4 separate regions of the Homo sapiens genome follow, and all the other regions are linked to region 2. The links are contacts of gene promoters, found by promoter capture Hi-C in blood cells and fetal thymus (Javierre and others, 2016). All regions are on one chromosome and are shown on one strand. Each heading gives the region's core, a stretch centred on a gene start or on the middle of the fragment in contact. The rest is flanking DNA. Distances are from core to core; before and after follow the strand shown.

What was found. The method cuts DNA at HindIII sites, captures the fragments that hold promoters and counts their contacts. A CHiCAGO score of 5 or more calls a contact.
Region 1: a contact is called between a fragment that was not itself captured here and the fragment with the promoter of RLF in region 2, in 8 of 17 cell types (naive B cells, total B cells, fetal thymus and 5 more). The highest score is 7.5, in naive B cells.
Region 3: a contact is called between a fragment that was not itself captured here and the fragment with the promoter of RLF in region 2, in 7 of 17 cell types (naive B cells, total B cells, endothelial precursors and 4 more). The highest score is 7.4, in naive B cells.
Region 4: a contact is called between a fragment that was not itself captured here and the fragment with the promoter of RLF in region 2, in 11 of 17 cell types (fetal thymus, naive CD4 T cells, total CD8 T cells and 8 more). The highest score is 11.4, in fetal thymus.

What each region holds. Positions count from the first base shown.
Region 1 is chr1:40,350,800-40,353,499 of GRCh38, forward strand. It overlaps a transcript of SMAP2 not described here. Among named protein-coding and RNA genes, the nearest start is that of SMAP2, 22 kb to the right of the region's middle. The HindIII fragment of the contact is 278 bases long and covers 1,148-1,425 here.
Region 2 is chr1:40,159,972-40,162,671 of GRCh38, forward strand. RLF (RLF zinc finger) reads left to right here and starts at 1,416. Exons shown (of 8, transcript NM_012421.4): 1 at 1,416-1,665. The coding sequence starts at 1,429. LOC105378671 (a long non-coding RNA gene) reads right to left here and starts at 1,307. Exons shown (of 3, transcript XR_947232.3): 1 at 994-1,307. RefSeq lists a silencer at 1-79 and enhancers at 1,088-1,704, 1,192-1,701, 1,705-2,320. The HindIII fragment of the contact is 5,693 bases long and covers 1-2,700 here.
Region 3 is chr1:40,294,989-40,297,780 of GRCh38, forward strand. No RefSeq gene overlaps it. Among named protein-coding and RNA genes, the nearest start is that of COL9A2, 21 kb to the right of the region's middle. The HindIII fragment of the contact is 4,052 bases long and covers 1-2,792 here.
Region 4 is chr1:40,375,498-40,378,197 of GRCh38, forward strand. The region is part of intron 1 of SMAP2 (small ArfGAP2); the gene reads left to right. Among named protein-coding and RNA genes, the nearest start is that of SMAP2, 3.1 kb to the left of the region's middle. The HindIII fragment of the contact is 1,058 bases long and covers 781-1,838 here.

The sequences.
Region 1 (2,700 bases), core at 37-2,536, 190 kb after region 2:
TTAGTCATGTGAAGAAATTTCTATATCTTTTTCTAAAATAAGCATTTTAAAATTATGTTGTTCACTGGGATTTTTACAAAATCATTTATCTTTGGATTAAGAAACCTGTGATACTATTCTGCCCCATTCTGCTCATTAACTCATTACAAATAATAATTGTAAGCCTCCAGAGTGGAGACTCTGAAGACTCAAAGTCAGGAGCAGATCCAAACAATCTCCCTCCTTACCCAGAATCACAAGGACCTGTCGTAGACAAGAAGTTCCCTTGTGCTTGTCCTACTCTCCTTGGAAAAGAATCCTCTCTTGTTCCATTTTCTGGTGCCTTCTGGAGCACCCCAGCTTTGATGGGGAGCTGGTGGGTCTCTCTTCACAGATGTCCTACTCCCTCCTTTCTCGTCATTTGGGAGTGGTGACAGAGAGCAGGGCTGAGAGGTTATTGGAGAGAGGAGGGACTCTGTGGCCTGACAAGGAGGGGAAAAGGAGATACTCATCTGTCTTGGCACTTGTTGGAGATTGTCCATTGCACAGATTGCACAAGAAACGCTGTGGACAAGAAGATAGAATCTCAGCTCTGGTCTGAACTCTGTCTTTTCTAGTTAACCTGGATCTAGAGTCTGTTCAGAGTATAAATTTATTCTGGTGATGAATACAGAATACAATGATTAACTCCTTGACTCCTTAAAGAAATGATTCTTTCATTTTTATTTATTTATTTATTTTTTGATACAGAGTTTCACTCTTGTTGTCCAGGCTGGAGTGCGATGGCACGATCTTGGCTCACTGCAACCTCTGCCTCCTGGGTCAAGCGATTCTCACGCCTCAGCCTCCGGAGTAGCTGGGATTACAGGCGTGCACCACCAAGCCCGGCTAATTTTGTATTTTTAGTAGAGATGGGGTTTTACCATTTGGTCAGGCTCGTCTCGAACTCCTAACCTCAGGTGATCCACCCACCTTGGCCTCTCAAATTGCTGGGAGTACAGGGGTGAGCCACCGCGCTCAGCCTATTTTAATTTTTTTTAATAGAGACATGGCTTTACCATGTTGGCCAGGCTGGTCTCGAACTCTTGGCCTCAAGTGATCTACCCACCTCGGCCTCCCAAAGTGCTGGAATTACAGGTGTGAGCCACCGTACCCAGCCAGATTCTTAAGCTTCTTTGGGTTATGCACATCCCTGCAAATCTGAGGCCCTCTCTCCCCAAGACTGCACACACCCGCACATCCATGAATTTTTTTTTCTTTTTGTAAAGTGAAAGCAAGTTTATTAAGAAAGTAAAGAAACAAAAGAATAGTTACTCCATAGGCAGAGCAGCTCCATGAAATTTTTCATACAATTTCAGGGGGTTGATATTATAAATAATGTTTAAAATAAATAGTGTTGATAAGGTGCCAAAGTCCATCTGTGGACCCAGGATAAGATGCCCTCCAAGCTTTAATGATATTAGGAACAGGGTGGAGTTCAACCTTCTCAGCACAGCATACAAGGCCTTTCGTGATCTGGCCCTCACCCTCTGTCCAGCTTCTCCTAATGCTTGCCACATGTAACCTCTCTAGCAGCTCAGAGTTCTTTTTCAGTTCTGCATTTTCATGCATTTTAATCTCTCTGCCTATAATGTTCTCCTCCTTGATTGCTCGGAAAAGAACTCCACTCTGTCAAGGCAGAGTTCGTCACTTCTTTCTCTTCTTCCTTCTTTGTTGTTTCCCTTGCTCATTTTAAAATATTTTAATTTAAAAAGTTTTTCTATTTTTTTTTACTTTTAAAGACAGGATCTTGCTCTGTCATCCAAGCTGGAGTGCAGTGGCATGATCATAGCTCACTGCAACCTTGAACTCCCAGGCTCAAGCAATCCTCCCACCTTAGCTAGGACTACAGCAGCAAGCCACCATTCTCTGCTAATTTTTTAAAAAGTTTGTAGAGACAATGCCTCGCTATGTTGCCCAGGCTGGTCTCAAACTCCTGGCCTCAAGCGATCCTCCCTCCTTGGCCTCCTAAAGCTCTAAGATTACAGGTGTGAGCCACCACACGCGGCGCCTCCTCCTCATTTTTGATGGGAAAGGATTATTTTAGCATGATGTGTAATGATCTCGACCACAATTGATAGATATTAACAACAATGAAATTTTTATGTCTGGGTACTCCCATCTGAAGAATCTGAAAGTTCTAAGACTACGTTTGCAGATGGAGTCAGGCATGACGTTTTCCATGGTCCTGACCACCATGGACTCTATGGCAGACATTGTCCGGGGTTGCCCACAGCCATGTCCAGCACCCATCTCTCTTGCTGCCTCCTGCCATAAGGGCTTTCCTGGTGTCCTTTGCAGTTAGAGGCTGAGCCATGCAACCTAGTTTTGGCCAAGGAGTCTTAAGGGAAAGACTGCTGTGAGCTTCTCGGAAAACTTTTGTTTTCCTGATAAAAGAAACAGCTAAGATTGGGGACATTCCTTTTCTCTTCTTCCTTCATTGGAAGATGATGCAATGTTTAGAGCTGTGGTGACCATCTTGTGACCATGAGGTGATTTACATGAGCAGCAGTTCTCATACTTGAATGTGCACCAGAATAGTCACCCAGAGGGCTTCTTTATTTTTTTGAGACAGAGTTTTGCTCTTGTTGCCCAGGCTGGAGTGCAATGGCATGATCTCAGCTCACAGCAACCTCCGCCTCCCGGGTTCAAGTGATTCTCCTGCCTCAGCCTCCTGAGTAG
Region 2 (2,700 bases), core at 166-2,665:
GTGAGCCACCTCGCCCAGCCCGGGAACTGTTTTGGATACTAATCAAAACAATGGTTATGGCTGGGCGCGGTGGCTCACGCCTGTAATCCCAGCACTTTGGAAGGCCAAGGCGGGCGGATCACTTGAGGCCAGGAGTTCGAGATCAGCCTGGCCAACACAGTGAAACCCCGCCTCTACTAAAAATACAAACATTAGCCAGGCATGGTGGCGGACGCTTATAGTGCCAGCTACTTTGGGAGGCTGAAGCACGAGAATCACTTAAACCTGAGAGGCAGAGGTTGCAGTGAGCCTAGATCGTGCCACTGCACTCCAGGCTGGGTGACAGAGTGAGACCCTGTCTCAAAAAACAACAACAATAAACAATGGTTATATATATGGGGAATATCATTTAGTCTGTGGCTTGTCTTTGTGTGCTTTTTCAACTTGTTATACGGAAGTAACACATTTTAATACAGTCAAATCTAAATATTTTCCCTTATGGTTTGTGCTTTTCCGGTCTTATTAAGAAATTCTTAGCCGGGCGCGGTGGCTCACGCCTCTAATCCCAGCACTTTGGGAGGCTGAGGCGGGCGGATCACCTGAGGTCAGGAGTTCGAGACCAGCCTGACCAACATGGAGAAACCCCATCTCTACTAAAAATACAAAATTAGCCAGGTATGGTGGCGCATGCATGTAATCCCAGCTGCTCCGGAAGCTGAGGCAGGAGAATGTTTGAACCAAGGAGGCGGAGGTTGCGGTGAGCTGAGATAGCACTGTTGCACTCCAGCCTGGGCAACAAGGGTGAGACTCCGTCTAAAAAAAAAAAAAAAAATTCTTCCCTATTTTTGACATTATAAAGCTATTTTTATTTTCTGAAAAATGTTTGCAGGTCTTTAATCCATCTCGGCCTTATTTTTGGAAATGGTTTGAGGTAGAAATCTAATCATTTATTTCCCTTTTGGAAAAAATGTCTCATCGCCATTTATTGAAGAGTCTGTCCTTTCGCCCACTGACTTGTAATGCCGTCTGTATCATAAACCAAGTTCCCTTGATGTTACTCTTCATTTCGGCCTCACAATCTTTGCTTATTTTCCTTCTACCAGGGATGCTTTTCGCTATGTTCCTTTCAGGGCTACCTTCCTCTTGTCCCTTCAGATCGCAGTTCAAATGTCATCCCCCTCAAATCTAGATTGCTCTACAGGCATTTCTGGCTCCGTGATCCCATGACCTCAAAGGGGTCTAGGTGGGCATAGCCTCTAGCCAGTTGTTGCTAGGCTGTTGTCAGGACTGGCGATGCGTAGGCCACTGAGAGCACCCGGAGTCCGAGTGACGGAATCAGGCGGGCGCCCGCGTCGCTAAGGAGTGCGTCACAGTGCGCGGGCGGCCGGGGGCAGGGCCAGGGCTGAGTCACGTGGCTTGGTTGCCTACGCGCTGGTGGGCCGTGGGAAGATGGCGGACGGAAAGGGAGACGCCGCCGCTGTCGCCGGGGCTGGGGCTGAGGCTCCGGCGGTAGCGGGAGCCGGAGATGGAGTCGAGACTGAGTCCATGGTTCGGGGTCATCGCCCCGTATCTCCAGCGCCGGGAGCCTCGGGACTGCGGCCGTGTCTGTGGCAGCTGGAGACAGAGCTGAGGGAGCAAGAGGTGTCGGAGGTCTCATCTTTGAACTACTGCCGGAGCTTCTGCCAGGTGAGGGGCTGACTGGCTGGCTGAGGGCGGCGGGGCGGGGAAGTCAGGGAAGGAGGCCCTGGATCCTCTGTAAGCAGCCGGGTCCAAACTGAAAGGCGCCACCTCCGTGACTCGCCGCGCCCCCGGGCCGGGAAGGCCCAGCTCGGAAGCTCGACCGCTGGCCCCCCTGCGCCACTGCCCGACTTTGGCCACCGCTGGGTCGTTTTGCTCTGAGCCTTACTGAGATCCCGGAGGGCCCTGGCGGGTCCCTGGAAGGGCTGTGCCCTGTCGCCGTTGCCTGTGTCCTGGCCGGGTGGTTGGAGCGCCACTGCCCCCTGAGGGATTGATTGCTTGTCCCTGCCGGGAGATCCTTTTTTGAGTGGAGTGCAGATCTCCGAACTGGTAAACCCGGGTTTTTCTGAATAATCCAGAGAGGTGTGTTGGGGCCAGAGACTTATTTTTGGAGTTAACATCTTCTGGGCTCCTAAAAGGTATGACAGTTGGCTTCGAAAGGCGTCTAGAGCTTTCTGATTAGGGATTGCGGAGCCGGTTGGTTGTTTGGTTTTTGCTTTTTTTTTTTTTACGTTTAAGCCGTTCTTTCGTCTTTTCTGTATTTCTTTGAGAGGATTGTGCTACCGAGAATAAGGCTGACTCTTTGAGTAGAAGAGGATGGGAAGAGGGATGTAGAGTGTGGCCTCTTTTGGCAGTCGTATGATCATTTCTGTGCCTTGGTGGGTCCTAACCTATGATTACATATTTATGGGTGTGTTTAGTTTAGTCTCCATGACCACTCCGAGATTTTTCTGTATGTTTTCAAGTCTTTTACAAATACAAATATTGGCCATTATTATTTCTGCTTCCAATGTTTGTTCTGTCAGGTTTCAGAGGCACCCATCAGCTCCTTATCTGTTGTACCTTAGAAAATGCAAAATAATCGTGGCATGTTGGTACTTGGAGTCTAATAAGTAGTCCAGTATGCTGAATAAATTGCGGCGTTCTAAAATAATAATTTTGGGGGGCAATTTGCTCTGTTGGTCCGGAGTAGAATAAAAGTTA
Region 3 (2,792 bases), core at 210-2,709, 140 kb after region 2:
TTCCCCTCCCTGTGGAAACCTTCTACTTGCTTTTTTTGTTTTTGTTTTTTTTGAGAAGAAGTTTCTCTCTTGTTGTCCAGGCTGGAGTGCAATGCCCCGATCTCAGCTCACCGCAACCTCCGCCTCCTGGGTTCAAGCGATTCTCCTGCCTCAGCCTCCCAAGTAGCTAGGATTACAGGCTTGCGCCACCACGCCTGGCTAATTTTTTGTATTTTTAGTAGAGATGGGGTTTCACCATGTTGCCCAGGCTGGACTGCAATGGTGCGATCTCGGCTCACTGCAACCTCCACCACCCAGGTTCAAGAGATTCTCCTGCTTCAGCCTCTTGAGTAGCTGGGATTACAGGCATGTGAGCCACCACATCCGGCTAATTTTTGTATTTTTTTCTTTTCTTTCTTTTTTTTTAAGACTCTCTGTCTCTCTGTCACCCAGGATTGAGTGTAGTGGCATGATCTTGGCTCACTGCCACCTCTGCCTCCCAGGTTCAAGTGATTCTCCTGCTTCAGCCTCCCGAGTAACTGAGATTACAGGCATGGGCCAATACACCTGGCTAATTTTTGTATTTTTAATAGAGACGGGGTTTCTCCATGTTGGCCAGGCTGGTCTCAAACTCCTGACCTCAGGGGATCCGCCCACCTTGCCCTCCCAAAGTGCTGGGATTATGGGGTGAGCCACCGTGCCCAGCAAATTTTTGTATTTTTTAGTAGAGATGGGGTTACTCCATGTTAGCCAGGCTGGCCTCAAGCTCCTGACCTTGTGATCTGCCTGCCCTGGCCTCCCAAAATGCTGAGATTACAGGTGTGAGTCACCACTCCTGGCCATGTTCTTATATACTTTCTATATCTTTGATGGTTTTGAGTATTCTGCCATCATTAGCAGAAAGCTAACTACCACTTAAGGGCCTTACGTTCTATCCTAAGGGCAAAACAAAGAAAATTACAGATAATTTGTAATCCAAAACTTTTATCCAGAAACATTTTAAGACCACAGTGATGTGAGCAAGTAACTTGAACGATGTGTGCCAGGCTGAGTTCAGTTTTGTGGGAAGGCAAATATAATCCATTGTGGAATGGGATAGTCCCATTTAGACAATATGGATAAGGAAATCTTGGGCTCTTCTCTGTTATCCAGGATGATTTCCAGGGAGGAGGATTTCCTAAACAGTTTGACCAGAAACAGCTAGGAAGATACCTCTGTGTGTTCTAAAAACCTGTGAAGCCGGGACCGCCAATACTCAGGAAGCAGATTTGCCTTACTCTGCCCTTGGCTGAGTCCGAGCTCCCCTCTGGCTCTCTGGATGATGGTCAATAACAGGTAAAGTATTAGGATTAAGCCTGGGGCTCTATAATCCAACATGCCACTTACTAGTAAGACTTTGGGTAAGAAACTTGACCGAGACTGTATTTCTCCATCTGTCCCCACTCTACCAAGCGCTGCTCTAGGTGATGGGGAATACATGGTAAACAAAAGGTACAAAAATCCGCCACGTCTTGGAGTTTACATTCTAGTATCAGGGAGAAAGACAACTAAAATGTATTTATATGGTGATACATGTTTTGGAAAAAAAGGCGGGGGCTGAGGTGTTTGGGTGGGGGTAGGAGCTGCAATTTTATTTTATTATCTTTTATTTTTTTGAGATAGAGTTGCACTCTGTCGCCCAGGCTGGAGTGCAGTGGCACGATCTTGGCTTACTGCAACCTCTGCCTCCCGGGTTCAAGCGATTCTCCTGCCTCAGCCTCCCAAGTAGCTGGGATTACAGGCATCCACCACCACACCTGGCTAGTTTTTGTGTTTTTAGTAGAGATGGGGTTTCATCATGTTGGCCAGACTGGTCTCGAACTCCTGACCTCAAGTGATCCACCCGCCTTGGCCTCCCAAAGTTCTGGGATTACAGGCATGAGCCGTGCCTGGCCAGCAATTTTAAATAGGGTGGTCACAAAAAGGCATCACTGAAGGTCACATTTGAACCAAGACCTGAAGGAAATGAAGAGTGAGGTGTTCTAGGGAGGTGTCTGAGGGAAGAGCATCCCAGACGCTAGATTTTGCAGGGCCTTGTAGGCCACTGTAAGAATTCAGGCTTTTCCTTGAGTGTGGTAGGAAGCCATTGTAGAGTTTTAGGCTAAGGAGTGACATGATCTGAAGTTTTAATAGGACCACTCTGGCTTCTATGTTGAGGAGCAAAGGTTGAAGCAGGGGACTAGTTGGGAGAGGCTTGCAATCCTTCTTGCAAGAAATAATGGTGCTAGACTGGAGTGGTAGTCAGGAGGTGGTAAGTGGCTGGATTCTGGATATATTTTTAAGACTGAGCCAACAGGATGTGCTGATGGATCAGATGTGGGGTCTAAGAGATAAAGTGGGAGTGGAGGATGACTCCAGTGTATTTGGCTTAAATAACTGAAAGGATGGAGTTGCCCTTGGGTGAGATGGGAAAGATCGCAGGAGGGGGGATTCTGGAGGGGAAGATCAGGAATTGTTTCGGACATGTTAAATTTGAGATGCCCATCAGACATCGAAGGGGAGATGTTGAGTAGGCAGTTGGATCGACGGATCAAGTTAAGCAGCGAGATCTGGACTGGGGATATATAGATAAAGTTTAAAGCCATGAAACTGAATGAGATATGAGAGGAGCCAGAGAAAAAGATGTGGTCCAAGGAACAAGTGACTTTCAGATACTGGAGACATGAGAAATCAGCGCAGGAATCTGAGAACAGTGTGGTGAGCTAAAAGCCAAAGTGAGACCAACCCTCCCCATAAAAGGGAGCAAAAATTTGGGATAGTATCTACAGGTGGGA
Region 4 (2,700 bases), core at 60-2,559, 220 kb after region 2:
ATGTATTTTAGTGACCTCTACCAACAGATAAATGGAATGTGCCATTAGGAAAACAAATTCCTAGACTTCTTTCCTGAATTTTTGCATTAGCAATAATTCATTTTAAAAAGTATTTTAGAATCAATTTATGTTGAGTAGGTTAGCTTCTTGATTCTTGTTACATCTTCTGTTAGGTCTATTGGAAGATTTGGTTTATTTTAGGAGTGTATCTTGGCTTTATTCAAATTCCCTTATGTCCTCATTTGACAGATCTTGAGTCACAGTGAAGCAACCCACTGGAGTGAGCATTGCTGCATTTGGAGAGTCAGATGCCATTTTGGTGACTAGAACCCCCCCCCCCATTTCTCATATTACCCTTATACTTACTCATATTCCAATAAAATACAGCACATGGAAGAGAGAGGCTGATTCACTACTTCTTCCTCCAAATTTCCATTGCTTTTTATTTATTTTATTTTTTATTTTTATTTTTTGAGACAGTTTCGCTTTGTCGCCCAGGCTGGAGTGCAATGGTGCAATCTCGGCTCACTGCAACCTCTGCCTCCCGGGTTCAAGTGATTCTCCTGCCTCAGCCTCCCGAGTACCTGGGATTACAGGCGCCCGCCACCATGCCCAGCTGATTTTTGTATTTTTAGTAGAGACAGGGTTTCACCATGTTGGCCAGGCTGGTCTTGAACTCCTGACCTCAGGTGATCCACCCGCCTCAGCCTTCCAAAGTGCTGGGATTACAGGTGTGAGCCACCATGCCCAGCCCGAAATTTCCGTTGCTTTTTATTAATAAGCTTACTGGGGATCAGGTTATGAAATATCAGTTAATTCTTAATGAGAACTAGTAACTGCTGGCTTGTAAACTTTATTAACTACTGTTGATGGTAGAATCCTGGATCCTCAATTTCTTTTCAGAAGTTCGTTTTACATTTTACCAGGTGGCTTCAGGGACTTGGTCATTGTATTAAAAATGAGATGACAATGGGTCAGTCATCTTTAGATTATGACAAATAGGCATTTGTTGAGGCCTCTGTTTATCCAATTTATGAATTACCTATCCCATTCCACCCCTCCAAGCCCTCTCACTCTTTTTCCCCTGCTGTTTTCTAATTTTGGTTGTCATAATGATCATTTGGACAACTATCAGATTGTTGAAGGAAAAGACGTTTGGATCAATAAATTGTTACCTGTTAGCGCTGATAAAAAATACATTTCATTGGAGGAGGAATTTAAAAAGTGTTGGCTAAAATGAGAATTGGGTTTCAGTTTATTTACCTGTATTCCTGTGTCCTTTCCTAAAAAATTGGAAGTTAACTGTACAGGATATGGTGAGTGATTGCTCATCTATTAATATCCAGTTAGATGATGTGGCATAGACTATCGACCTATGAGCAGGTATTTTTGCAATGTTCCAAAATATAACTCTTTGGCAATGACTTTTATTTTTAAATTCTTATACTTATTTAGGAACATTTATTAGTTGACTTTCAAGGTATGTGATTTAAACTTCGGAATAGAGGCTGGGTGTGGTGGCTCAAACCTGTAATCCCAGCACTTTGAGAGGCCAAGGAGGGAGGATCACTTGAGTCCAGGAGTTCAAGACCAGCCTGGGCAACATAGTGTGACCTTGTCTCTACAAATAGTTAAAAAATTAGCTGGGTGTGGTGTTGTGCATCTGTGGTCCCAGCTACTCAGGAGGCTGAGGCAGGAGGATCACCTGGGCAACTGAGCCCAGGAGGTCGAAGCTGCAGTGGGCCATGATTGAGTGCCACTGCGCTGCAGCCTGGGTCAGAGAGCAAGACCCTGTCTCTAAAACAAAACACAACAAATAAACATCAGAATAGAGAACAAGCTTGTGTTCTTTTTACTTCGTACAAGTTTTGTTGATCCTGGGGTTTTTAACTGTCCTGGGCACGAGTCTTACCAGTTTCTGGGACCACTAAACCATTCCAGTAATTTCAGTGTGGGAAAGGAAACTGCTTTGGGGCTGCCTATTTAAGAAATGCTATGATTCTCTCTAGGCTCAAGATGTGATTTCTTCATTACCCAAAGCCCTGGGGTTAATGTGACTTTTAGGGTGAACTTTTGGACTAACTTAGGTAGTGATAGAACAGAGGACAAAACTACTGAAAATTCCAGATATGTCAATGGTAACTCTGGCTGATTGAGGCTGGGTTCCATTTTTGGGTATGGGTCATACTTCCTTTGTACTTGGGGTCATACTGGTCCAAGTTTTAACTTCTAGCTCAGCAGTTCCAGATTTTATCAGTGTGTCAGGAATAATTGCTAAGCCACCCCGTCAGAGACTGTGTTTTAAACTGGACACTATCTTATTTACCATGAAAGGATCTACAGTTGTCCTTTGGTATCCAGGGGGGATTGGTTCCAGGAACCTTCTGGGGTACTAAAATCCACAGATGCTCAAGTCCCTGATATAAATGTTGTAGTGCTTGCATATAACTTATACACATCCTCCCTTATACTTTAAATCATCTCTAGATTACTTATAATATCTAATACAATGTTAATGCTATGCCAGTAGTTGTTACTCTGTATAATTTAGGGAATAATGAGAAGGAAAAAAGTCTGCACATGTTCTGTACAGATGCAACCATTCATTTTTTACTGAATATTTTCTTTCCTTTTTATTTTTTTTAGAGACGGGGTCTTGCTCTGCCACCCAGGCTGGAGTGCAGTGGTGCGATTATAGCT